2 separate regions of the Homo sapiens genome follow, and region 1 is linked to region 2. The links are contacts of gene promoters, found by promoter capture Hi-C in blood cells and fetal thymus (Javierre and others, 2016). All regions are on one chromosome and are shown on one strand. The core of a region is centred on a gene start or on the middle of the fragment in contact, and the rest is flanking DNA. Distances in the headings are between cores, read along the strand shown.

What was found. The method cuts DNA at HindIII sites, captures the fragments that hold promoters and counts their contacts. A CHiCAGO score of 5 or more calls a contact.
Region 1: a fragment that was not itself captured here is called in contact with the fragment with the promoter of C11orf65 in region 2 in 2 of 17 cell types (monocytes and naive CD8 T cells); the score reaches 6.9 in monocytes.

The regions. Positions count from the first base shown.
Region 1 is chr11:107,555,175-107,561,311 of GRCh38, forward strand. ALKBH8 (alkB homolog 8, tRNA methyltransferase) reads right to left here. Exons shown (of 12, transcript NM_138775.3): 2 at 5,591-5,725; 3 at 1,592-1,829. The coding sequence starts at 5,719. Among named protein-coding and RNA genes, the nearest start is that of ALKBH8, 7.5 kb to the right of the region's middle. The HindIII fragment of the contact is 2,049 bases long and covers 2,208-4,256 here.
Region 2 is chr11:108,464,552-108,470,072 of GRCh38, forward strand. C11orf65 (chromosome 11 open reading frame 65) reads right to left here and starts at 2,978. Exons shown (of 9, transcript NM_152587.5): 1 at 2,920-2,978. RefSeq lists a silencer at 871-1,165, enhancers at 2,197-3,049, 2,990-3,134 and a cis regulatory region at 3,062. The HindIII fragment of the contact is 4,195 bases long and covers 2,142-5,521 here.

The DNA.
Region 1 (6,137 bases), core at 1,982-4,481, 910 kb before region 2:
GTGTGAACCCGGGAGGTGGAGCTTGCAGTGAGCTGAGATCGTGCCACTGCACTCCAGCCTAGGTGAAAGAGCAGGACTCTGTCTCAAAAAAAAATAAAAAAAACTATTTGTGACACACTTCTGTTCTCAATTAAAAATGACTTTCAAGGTTATAAATGTGATTGCCAGAGCCTTAAAAGTACATATGGATCTAATGAAGAATTTCAAATAAAGAGCACTCCAAAACTTACTTTGTGCAATTTCTTACTGAATATTCACCATGGAGGACGGGGGTAAACCCAATGACTATTTTCTGATTAAAACTTACTCCTCAGCCACTCAGTTTTCAAAAACTGACCAGAAACATGTAAAACATGAGGATAATCTAGTTTCCAAAATATGTAAAGCTTAAGTCAGATTTAAAATTAAATGCATATGAGCACTGAGAAATATAGTTTCTAAAATATACCTTTAAAAGAGTCTGTAAAAGTTTTCCTTCGAGTCTTATTTTACAAAAACATAAATTTGAGCAGATTATAGTCACCTACCCACTCCTAGGATATCTAAAACAGGGCTCTTTTACTGCCTAAATAGGTGGCAAATGAATATATGATTAGATGTTTAAATCTAAGTTCATCTCAATACATCTCATTTTCATGGGGCAGAAGTAATAATTCCTGTACAATTCTGTAAATCAATATATAAAGCTATACTTATTTAATTAAATTATTCAGTTCCTCAATCAGACTATCCAGTGGCTATTGAACTGGGCAGCACAGACAGGAACATTTCTACCATCACAGGAAGTTCTACTGGACAGCACCACCATAAAGTTTTAGGAATCAGCCGGGCACGGTGGCTCACGCCTGTAATCCCAGCACTTTGGGAGGCCAAGGCAGGCGGATTACGAGGTCAGGAGTTCGAGGCCAGACTGGCCAACACGGTGAAACCCCATCTCTACTAAAAATACAAAAATTAGCCAGGCATGGTGGCACATGCCTGTAATCCCAGCTACTTAGGAGGCTGAGGCAGGAGAATTGCTTGAACCCGGGAGGTGGAGGTTGCAGTGAGCCGAGATTGTGCCATTGCACTCCAGCCTGGGCAACAAGAGCAAAACTCTGTCTCAAAAAGCAAAAAAATAAATAAATAAATAAAAATAAAGTTTTAGGAATCTTTGGTAGCTACAGGTGTTCTGCTATAAATATGAAGATTGGTACATGATCATTTGGATCACGATTCATTCTTAAGTGATTAATTCAAAGCTCCTGGGTAGATATGTGAAATAAACTAGTAATGCAAACCCTCATTATTAAATTTTGAAAAACACAATTAGGCAGGAGGGTTCCAAAATAAGCCATGTGCCTAATAAATATATTGTTGACTGGTGGGACTAGCTTTGTAAAGGCAGGTTGTATCTTATTCACCTCTGTACTGTCAACTACTTGTCCCATGCCTGGCACAAATAGGTGCTTAAAGAATGTTTGTTAAAGTAAAAGGAGCTGCTAACCTGCTTCCTCATTTTGTTTCACAATAACTGAACCTCCCAACTTAAGTCTATGAAAAGAAAACACCCAGAAGAATCATTTTTTAAAAGATAATTGTATGATAATACCTTTTTCCACAAAATTCAAATACAGAGTGATCTTTTGTCCTAAATCATCCACTACTTCTTTTCCATTGAGGGTAACATAGGCTCTCTTAGATTCTTCTGTAGTTCTGTATCTTGCAAATGAGTACGGCTTGTTAGGTGGCATTAAGAGAGCATCCACCAGTCCACATTTCTCTAAAACCGGGAGCAGCTGGTTCCGACTCACACCATTACCCAAACCACCATTGGCAACAACCAGGCTCTTAAAAAACAAACAAACAAACAAAAAGAAAGTAACATGAGCAACTGATACCAACCCATTTGTTTTAAAATAAGATTTTTTTTAAAAAAGATGTAATTAAGAAAAAAAAAGCATTTCCTTGTAGTGGTTGTTTGGTTTGCTAATTTCATACAAAGTATGTAAACCAATTTACTAAAAATTTGGGGAATAAAAAGGACTCCTATATTGTAAATTGTGTTGTTTAAATAGCCAATTTCACAAAATATTCATTTCTAAATGACCATAAATGCAAATTAAAACATGACTATTATTCAGAAATATAAATTTAACATAATGAAAGAGGTGGAGAGGAGAAAGGACAGTTACATAACACTTGCTTTTTGGCAAGACTGTTCTATAAGCTTTTATCTACTCAATCCTCATTAACATAATCTTCACAACATATTGAATTTATTTGGGTAATATCAGCCCAATTTCATAGAAGAAGATCTGACAAATTAGGTTAAGGTGGTGATTAGGGGTGGGTTTAAACCTATTTCTGTCCGTTTCCAGGATCCGCACTTTTAATATAACCATTATACAATGTTTACTAAAAATTAAAAGTAAAGGTACTATTACCTCAAAGAAAAACCAATTATAGCTTCTATTGAACATAATTAGGAAAAAATTTTCCTCTAAGGAAATTCAGACTAAGTAATTCAGTCAGTTCACAATGAAAACTTTTTCCTTTGTAAGTTTCACGATTACTTCCTGCTGTTTGCATAGTCCTGCACTAAACTTTATTCAAGGAAATTTTGCAGGGATGAAAGAGGAGTCTCTTATTTTTATTCTGATGTTCATGGTCTAGCACCCATATAGTCTCTATACTTAACCATTCTATACAATGTAAAGATTTTTAATTTATGTTCTATGACTTCTAAAAACATTTCAATATAACAAAAGAAAGCCATGGATGGCCTACTCTCATCAATTTCTTCATTTATACCAGGTGTTGATGACGTTTTTCTGAGAAGAGGTAGATAGTAAATATTTTAGGCTTGGCAGGCCATAAAAGTTTCTGTCAGATAGTCTTAGTATTATTTTTTAACACTTTAAGAATGTAAAACTCATTATTTTGGTCACAACCCTGATTTAGTCTAAGGACAGTAGTTTGCCAACCCTTAATTTATACTAAGCTCAGTGATAGTACATTGTGTATTGGTTTATTACACAAAATAAGAATACCTAGAACTTTGTTTGAAAAGGATATAAAAGAATTATTATGAAATTGGACAATAAGGAAAGTAAAACTGTTTTGTCATGGGACAGCCAGTACTTTGTATGCATGCAAGCATATACATACATAATAAACAAGCCCACTAATACAATACTATATGATATGGAGTAAAATGGAGTCTCAGATGGCTTGCCCTGGACCTCACTTAATGAGGTTTATTAATTAAAATACCAAAATAACTTGGTTATATGTGGCCATAGTTGCAAAAACATTCCCATATTCCTAAATCTATGGAAGAGCAAAGGTTTCATTGGTGTTGAGGGTCCACTACCCCATCTAGGAATGGAAGATGATGAAGTATGACTTCAGGAATACTAGAAGTCCTCTAAGATGCCGTCTGAGTGTTTTGTGGGCAACTCTAAAGGTAAACCACACAAAAACAAGTGCGGTAGAAGAGGAGAGGAACTTATTTTCCATTAAATGTGAGATACATATAATTAAATGTCATAACTAAATGTAATATAATTAATGCAATAATTAAATGGAACTATTATTTTATTTATAATTGTTCAAGCAATTTTCTAAATAAGGAGGAGTATGTATGAAGTAGAGAATGTGAATTTTTTTTAAGTTATCTTTGGTCCTGACAATTTGAGGATCATTGCTCTAGAAAAATCTGTAATGCCATAAATTTGTACAAAGGAGCCTAAAATTATAATACATCCGATATGGTTTGGCGTGTCCCCACCCAAATCTCATCTTGAATTTTAGCTCCCATAATTCCCACATTTTGTGGGAGGGACCCACTGGGAAATAATTGAATCATGGGGGCCATTTCCCCTATAATGTTCTCGTGGTAGTGAATAAGTCTCATGAGATCTGATGGTTTTATAAGGGGTTTCCCCTTTCGCTTGGCTCTCATTCTTTCTTGCCTGCCGCCATGTAAGCCAGGACTTTCGCCTTCTGCCACGATTGTGAGGCCTCCCCGGCCACGTGGAACTGTGGGTTCATTAAACCTCTTTCTCTTTAAAAAATTACCCAGTCTCGGGTATGTCTTTATCAGCAGCATGACAACAGACTAATACAATATCATTAAAACAATATTTGCTCTCCCCTGGAAAGATAAAATATAATTAGAGGTCCATCTACAATTTTATTCTTTTCCTTTAAGAATATGGAGAAAAAAGAAAGCCTAAATAAAATGCTACTTTGGAAGCCATGAAGGACATCAAAGCTTCTAGAGATCCTAAAGAAAAGGCAGACCCAACCAGAAACAAGCTTCAGAGGGGTCAAAGAAATGGAGCCTATTTTTTTTTTCTTGCTACTTCTCTTCATAAACCCTGTAAGGAAAGGAACACAAGTCACTCTTGGAAAGTGATGAGAGCAGTGTATGTCAGTTTAATCTTCTGAATGTCTCACAGCCTCAGTGGCTCTTGACTGAAACAGTAAAGTGTATGCAAACATATTAATTCTAATCTATTATCTATTTCATCCTTGCTATAGGAATGTGGCTTAAATTCTCTGAAGACATTAATATTTAACTCCAAGTATGGGCCTTTTACCTCCTAAATTCAAATGTGCCTCAACAGACTGCTCATTCTCAAGCTATGATGTTGTACAGAAGACAGCATAGTAAGCATTAAGGCAAGAGTATTGGTCTGAGAGTTGAGAGGCCTAAGTTTTAATCCCTGCTCCACCTTCTCAATTGTATGTCCACCCCTCAATTAAATGATATCTAAAGCTTACTTTCTACTTTTATTCTATAACTTTATGAGCCAAAAAGATAAGAACTCCTTATATTCATGGAGTAATTTAATGTCCAGTAAGTACAATTAGATTCTCTGGAATCTAACAATCTAATGGGGTTAAAAAGGTATGCAATACTATGCCCTGCTTAAAAATGAAGAAAGCTGAGGTCAGAGGATACTACTACTCGTGTCCAGAAAAGCTAAGAGTTAAACTGAGTTCTCCTAATTCATAACCCAGGAAATCTCACGATCCTCACATTTATCATCTCATTTAATTATTGTCCGCAGATAATGAAAAGACTTTGTTAATAAGGTCTAATAAAATAAAAATGTTTAACAGCACATAATCAAAATACTTTATAAAACAGGTTAAGGTTGGGAAGAGAAGAACAAGGGCTGTAGTAGGATATGGAAGATCTAGCTTTAAGTTTCTATTAGCTACTTACTAGCTTATATCAATGGAGACATATCATAACCTCTCAGAACTTTAGTTTTCTCACCTATCTCATAAGGACTTCTAGGGAATTAAATATAATAATGAATATAAGTATGCTTAGGAAACTGAGAAACTTGCACAGTATTATTATTAATATATAACTACAACCTCTTCTAGTTCAAACAACAAAATAAATAGAAATGCAAACTATAGGCTATGGACCAAAATAGAAAGTTAGCAGTTCATATCATATGTACCTCTAATATGGATGTAACACATGACTGAACAATTACAGCCTTAGGCAATTATTAGCAAATATTAATATAATACATTAACATGTCAGTACATTTACATTCTAATAATAATAGTAGTTTTAGGTCACCTGAGTGGCATAGGATACTGTCTCAATGCCTTCATGTCTCAGCAAAGTATGCTTGGCTTTAATCTGTTTCCTTAAGAACTTCTTCTCAGTTTTACTGAGTTTGTAATTACTTTGATGGTTGCTGTCCATAGCAAACTGTAAAAAAACAAGACAGTAAAAAAGTCAACCTTAAGAGTCCTGAAGGAACAATTATAATGATGTTATTCATACATTCTATAGTTTATCAATATTTCTGTGACAATTTTTTAAAAATGCTTCATTTACCTTGTACCAACTAAGAGAAGTGAGAACAGATAAATAAAAAATGAACAAATATCTAAGAATATCTAATAGCATAGCTCTGATGGTTCTAAAAAATGTTCCAATGTGGTAGCTCCATTAAGTGTGCTATTTTACTCATAGGTGATGAATTCTTTACTTATGAGGTCCTAAGTAAAATGTGCCATACACAAATTTCACAACTATAACGTAAACCAAGGCAAGGAGCAGGCAGGGGAGCGGTGGGGGGAGAAATAACACACAAAAAATTAGCAGACTCTACAGTATG
Region 2 (5,521 bases), core at 1,728-4,227:
GGGTTTCACCATGTTGGTCAGAATGGTCTCCATCTCTTGACCTCGTGATCCACCCACCTCGGCCTCCCAAAGCGCTGGGATTACAGGCATGAGCCACTGCGCCTGGTGCACATATATATTTGAATTGACTCTCTCTGGAAAGGGATATGAGAAATTACTAAGAATGATTGTCTCTAGGAAGGGACCTGTGGACTGAGGAGCCTGGGTTCGGAAAGGGAAGAGATGTTTTTGTTCCAGTATACTCTTTTATGCTGTTGGTATTTTTCCACAATGTGCATTTAGTTCAGATATATACAATATAACTTCATTAAAAAAAACAGCGTGCATATTGAAACCTAACACTGCCAAACTGTCCTCAAAAATGGTGTCTAATTTATGCCCATAAACATTCTATGGGAATGCTTGACTCTAAATTTTAGAAAAGTAAAAAACTAAACGTAAATTAGATATTAGGATTAAAATGGGTCTTTTAATACTTTCCAAGAACTAAACTGTGAGATTTTTTACCTGTTATCAATGTAGTGTGTGTGTTATTTAACGTGACAGCATTAGCATTAATTCATCACAATTTCATCATTTTCCCAAATACATTCCCAATTTTGTAGGTGGAAATTTAACACTGGATCTTAAAAATCCCTTGAAAATCCTGAACCAGTTTATTGAATACTTTGATCTAAATAATTTTACACGGGCTTTCTGCATACACCTGCTTCCTGCTTCTCTAGTGACATAGGCTAAAGGGTGTTTAGAAGCTGCCAAAAAAGTATGTCATAAATGCCACCATTATATGTTTATGAATACACAAAATATAGAGGAAATATATTCCAGCATTCAAAATTATCTGATTCAGAAATAAACAATGAAGTTCCACAATTTCAAGAAAGAACATATTCAATTGTGTCAAATATTGTTGCAAGGGCAAGTAAATACAGAGGAAAAAAAGGGAGATTTGGCCAGATAAAGTCACTAGTGACTGTACAGGCACTGCTTCAGTGGAGTAAGCAGGGAAGGAAGTTTGGGTTGGGTTGAGGAAGTGGGAAAGTTGAGACAGTAAGTACAGTAGTAATTCTTTGGAGTGCTGTAAGGGAGCAGAAAAATGGGGTGTAGCTAGAGAGTGAGAATGGATTAAAGGTTTTTTTTTAAAAAAAAAAGGCTGGGCGCGGTGGCTCACGCCTGTAATCCCAGCACTTTGGGAGGCCAAGGTGGGCGGATCATCTGAGGTTGGGAGTTTGAGACCAGCCTGACCAAAATGGAGAAATCCCGTCTCTACTAAAAATACAAAATTAGCTGGGTGTGGTGGCGCATGCCTGTAATCCCAGCTACTCAGGAAGGCTGAGGCAGGAGAATTGCTTGAACCTGGCAGGCGGAGGTTGCGGTGAGTCGAGATCATGCCACTACTCCAGCCTGGGCAACAAGAGTGAAACTCGGTCTAAAAAAAAAAAAAAACAACAACAACAACAAAAAACGACAGATTCTAAAGCATGTTAAAATGTACCATCCAGTAGTGAGGGAGAAATTAAAGTGACGGAGAACTTAAAGGGGCAAAAAAAGGGATAAGTTAAATGGTAAAACCTTTGAGTAGGTGTAAGAGGACACCATCTGGAGCAGAAAGGAGGGTGGGACCGTTGCTGGCTTTAGATAAGAAATAAGATCGACTTTATATGGTTATTATGATGCTCCAGATAAAATAACCATTGTGAAAACCCTTCATAAGTTTTAAGATACTAAAATGTACTACCAGGCCGGGTCTGGTGGCTCAGGCCTGTAATCCTAACATTTTGGGAGGCCAAGGTGGGCAGATCACCTTAAGTCAGGGGTTTGAGACCAGCCTGGCCAATATGGTGAAACCCTGTCTCTAGTAAAAATACAAAAATAAACTGGGTGTGGTGGCGCACACTTGCAGTCACAGCTACTCGGAAGGCTGAGGCAGGAGAATAACTTGAACCCAGGAGGCAGAGGTTGCAGTGAACTGAGATCACGCCACTGCACTCAGCCTGGGCAACACAGCGAGATGCCTTCTCAAAAACAAACAACAACAAAAAACTAACCAAATAAAATGTACTATCAAACAACTGCTCAGGCAATGAAGTATTTTACTACACCCATGTGCCACTTGTAGATTCACAGATAAGTATTTTCCAAGCTTATTATATCCCTAATCAATAAAATTTTTTATCATAATAGATGATGTTTTCACTTATTTATTTTTACGCTTCGTGGAAAAAAGCCCACAAGACGTGTTTGGATTCTTGGTTTCACTTTTAAAGCAGCAAACAATCTTTACTTTGCTTGAATTGGAACCTGTATACGTCCTATTTTGTTTCCTCTACTAAATTTATTGAATAAACAAATGATTCGCGTGGCCTTTATAAGTTTCGTAATTTCGCTTTTCCTTTTTACCTGTGGTCCTTGATGCTAGGGGCAGGAGAAGAAAAACTAACCTATTCTTTAAAAACGCGTTTCCCTTTTCCATCTCTAAAAAAACTGAAAAGACGTAAAACAAATGGGAGGGGGCAAAGGAAAGAAATGAGGAAAAATCTAAGGAAGATTAATGTGTACTTCCCGGTCAGCGGGAAGGTGGACGGAGTAATATCTTTGCGGAGGATTGGGGTGTGGGGATCTGTGAAGGCGCAGTATGAGCAGTAAGGACTTGTCAACCAGCCCGACGCAACTTCACCGAGGGCGAGGAAAGGAGCTCTGAGGAAGGGGTTACTCCCGGGCAGGACTGTAAACCAGCTGGAGGCCTCGCTGGGAGGGCTTTAGAGGAATGAAACGTCCTTAAGAGGGGCGGATGGGGAATGGTATCAAGGGTATGGGTTCTTTAGGGCCTTGAAACAACGAAGGCTCAAACCAGTGGGCACAAAGGCTACCGGAACAGTAGTACGCGCTGAGAGAAGGGACACTATTCCCTTCACCTACCAATCGCTGCTGGCCCGGGCGCCGCTGGACTCCTAGGTAACGTCGCAGGCGGAAATGACGTAACTCAATCCGTTCTGTCCCGCCCCATTGCCCTCCTAGCCCCGCCTTCTAGGCCCCGCCTTTCCTCTATTCGCGCTCTGACAAAGTGCAGGGGATATAGACCAACCGCTTGTGAAGGCTGCTGGTTCTGTTAGAAGCCCGCTTTCGATTGTCAGTGGCTTTGAGGCAAAGGATTTTGGAAGGGAAAGCAAAGTGATTGTCTACGAAGTTGGGCTTAGTATATAATAAAGCCCAGTCATTTCAACCAAGAACCTTAAAGATGTTGAGAAATATAATGAAATATTTTCTATTAATTTTTGTAAAATTTTTCTTGAGATAGGGTCTCAATCTGTGGCCGAGGCTGGAGTGCAGTGGCGCGATCTCGGCTCACTGCAGCCTGGAACTCCCCTGGCTCAGGTGATTCTCCCACGTCAGCCTCCCGAGTAGCTGGGACCGTAGGAGTGCACCACCACGCCAGGCTCATTTTTCTATTTTTATTAATAGTGGCGACAGGGTTTCTCCATGTTGTCCAGGCTGGTCTTGAACTCCTGGGCTCCAGCGATCCCCCCCTACCCCATCTCCCGCCTTGGCCTCCCAAAGTGCTAGGATTACAGGCGTGAACCACCGCGCCCGGCCTATTTAATTAGTTTAATTTATTCATTTGAAAATGAGACAACTGATCCTTCTAGCTATTTGACAGGTCTTGCTCAAGGTCAAAGAATACGTGACTTGCAGTCCAATGTTATTTCTAAATGTAAGCTCTTCAGCTGGTTAAGCTAAACTGCTTTAAGTGAAAACAGACGACCTCTTGAATGAGTTTTCAAATGACCTTAAATAATGCAAGCACTGCTTATCTAAAGCAAGTCTGACTTGCTTGAATTCTGAGTCTGACACTTTGGCAGTGCTTTAGTTGGTCACAGATTATTGCAATGTGAAAAAATCTTGTTCAGAACTGCCCAGTTTTGCTATGTTCGTCCTATGTTCATGCATGGAATATAATTTGTTTGTAAGGAAGATAAACTTTTAAGGAGGGAAAAGAAACACCTGAAGAGAAATTTCCCTGTATAATGAAAACATTTGTACAGAAAAAATTCTTGGTAGGTTAATTCAGTGACTCACTGAACTTCCAGAGTTCTTTAAAATCATCACAATCATAAGCAAGGGGTGAGCTTCAGTTCCTCTTTATGTAGTTGCCTTGATGCATTAATACACAGTAGTTATGAACAATAAACTGTAAAAATATAGTCATGGAAACATTATGTATATCTTAATTTTCAATCTAATAGAAACTGGGTTAAAAAATTTAAATTCAGGCCAGGTGTGGTGGCTCACACCTGTAATCCCAGCACTTTGGGAGGCTGAGGTGGGCGGATCACTTGAGGTCAGGAGTTCAAGACCAGCCTGGACAACATGGTGAAACCCCCTCTCTACTAAAAATACAAAAATTAGCCCAGCCTCCCAAGTAGCTGGGACTACAGGCGCCCTCCATGATACCCGGCTAATTTTTTGTATGTTTAGTAGAGACGGGGTTTTACTGTGTTAGCCAGGATGGTCTCAATCTCCTGGTGGCGCGCTGCCTGTAGTCCCAGCTACTCAGGAAGCTGAGGCAGGAGAATTGATAGAACCCGGGAGGCAGAGGTTGGTTGCAGTGAGCCGAGATAGCGCCATTGCACTTCAGCCTGGCAACACAGCAAGATTCCCTCTAAAAAAAAAAAAAAATTAAATTCAAAATTACACAACAATGTGAATGTACTTAAGTCCACTGAATTGTACAATTGAAACTAGTTAGAAGGATAAATTTATGTATATTTTACCACAATTTAAAAATTTTAAATTAAAAAACTGCAAAACTAAGCCAGTAAATAATTTAGAACAAAAATTCCTAAATGTACTGGATGAAATATAAAAATAAATTTAAGGTATACTGCTGTTTAGATATTATTTTTATTAGGTTGGTGCAAAAGTAATTGCGGTTTTTGTCATTAAACATACATAATTAAACATAATGGCAAAAACCGCGATTACTTTTGCATCAACCTAATAAACTGCATATTTTTAATGTAGTGCTTATCTGAATTATTTTAAAAAGTATTTACAATAGTTACTGTTGAGTACTTATGTTACCTCTAACCTGATCCACAAGAATTCAGCAATTTCTACATAACAGGCTAGAACATTTTCTTATTGCTCTAATACATGTAAAAATTGTTCAGTTCTTTAAAAGTATCTTTCTTTAAAGTAGCCACAAGGGATCATTAAGACTAGAAACTGTCAAGTGTTAGGTTTATTCATTTATATGTACCTGCTTAAATCTAGGAACAGTTTACTAAGACGCAGAACTCAGAAGAACTTCTGGGTGGTTTCACAGAAATCGTTCCTTCCTTCCTTCTCTCTTCCCCTCTCCACTTATTCTCTTCCTCTTCTTTTTCTCTCTTCTTTGTCTTACTACTATTATACAATATATCATATTATATTTATGAAATTAATATTCTTGCTTTCCACTTACAAGGCAAAGATTTTTCTTTATAAACCATGTGAAGACAAGAGATAAGGAAACAAAAAT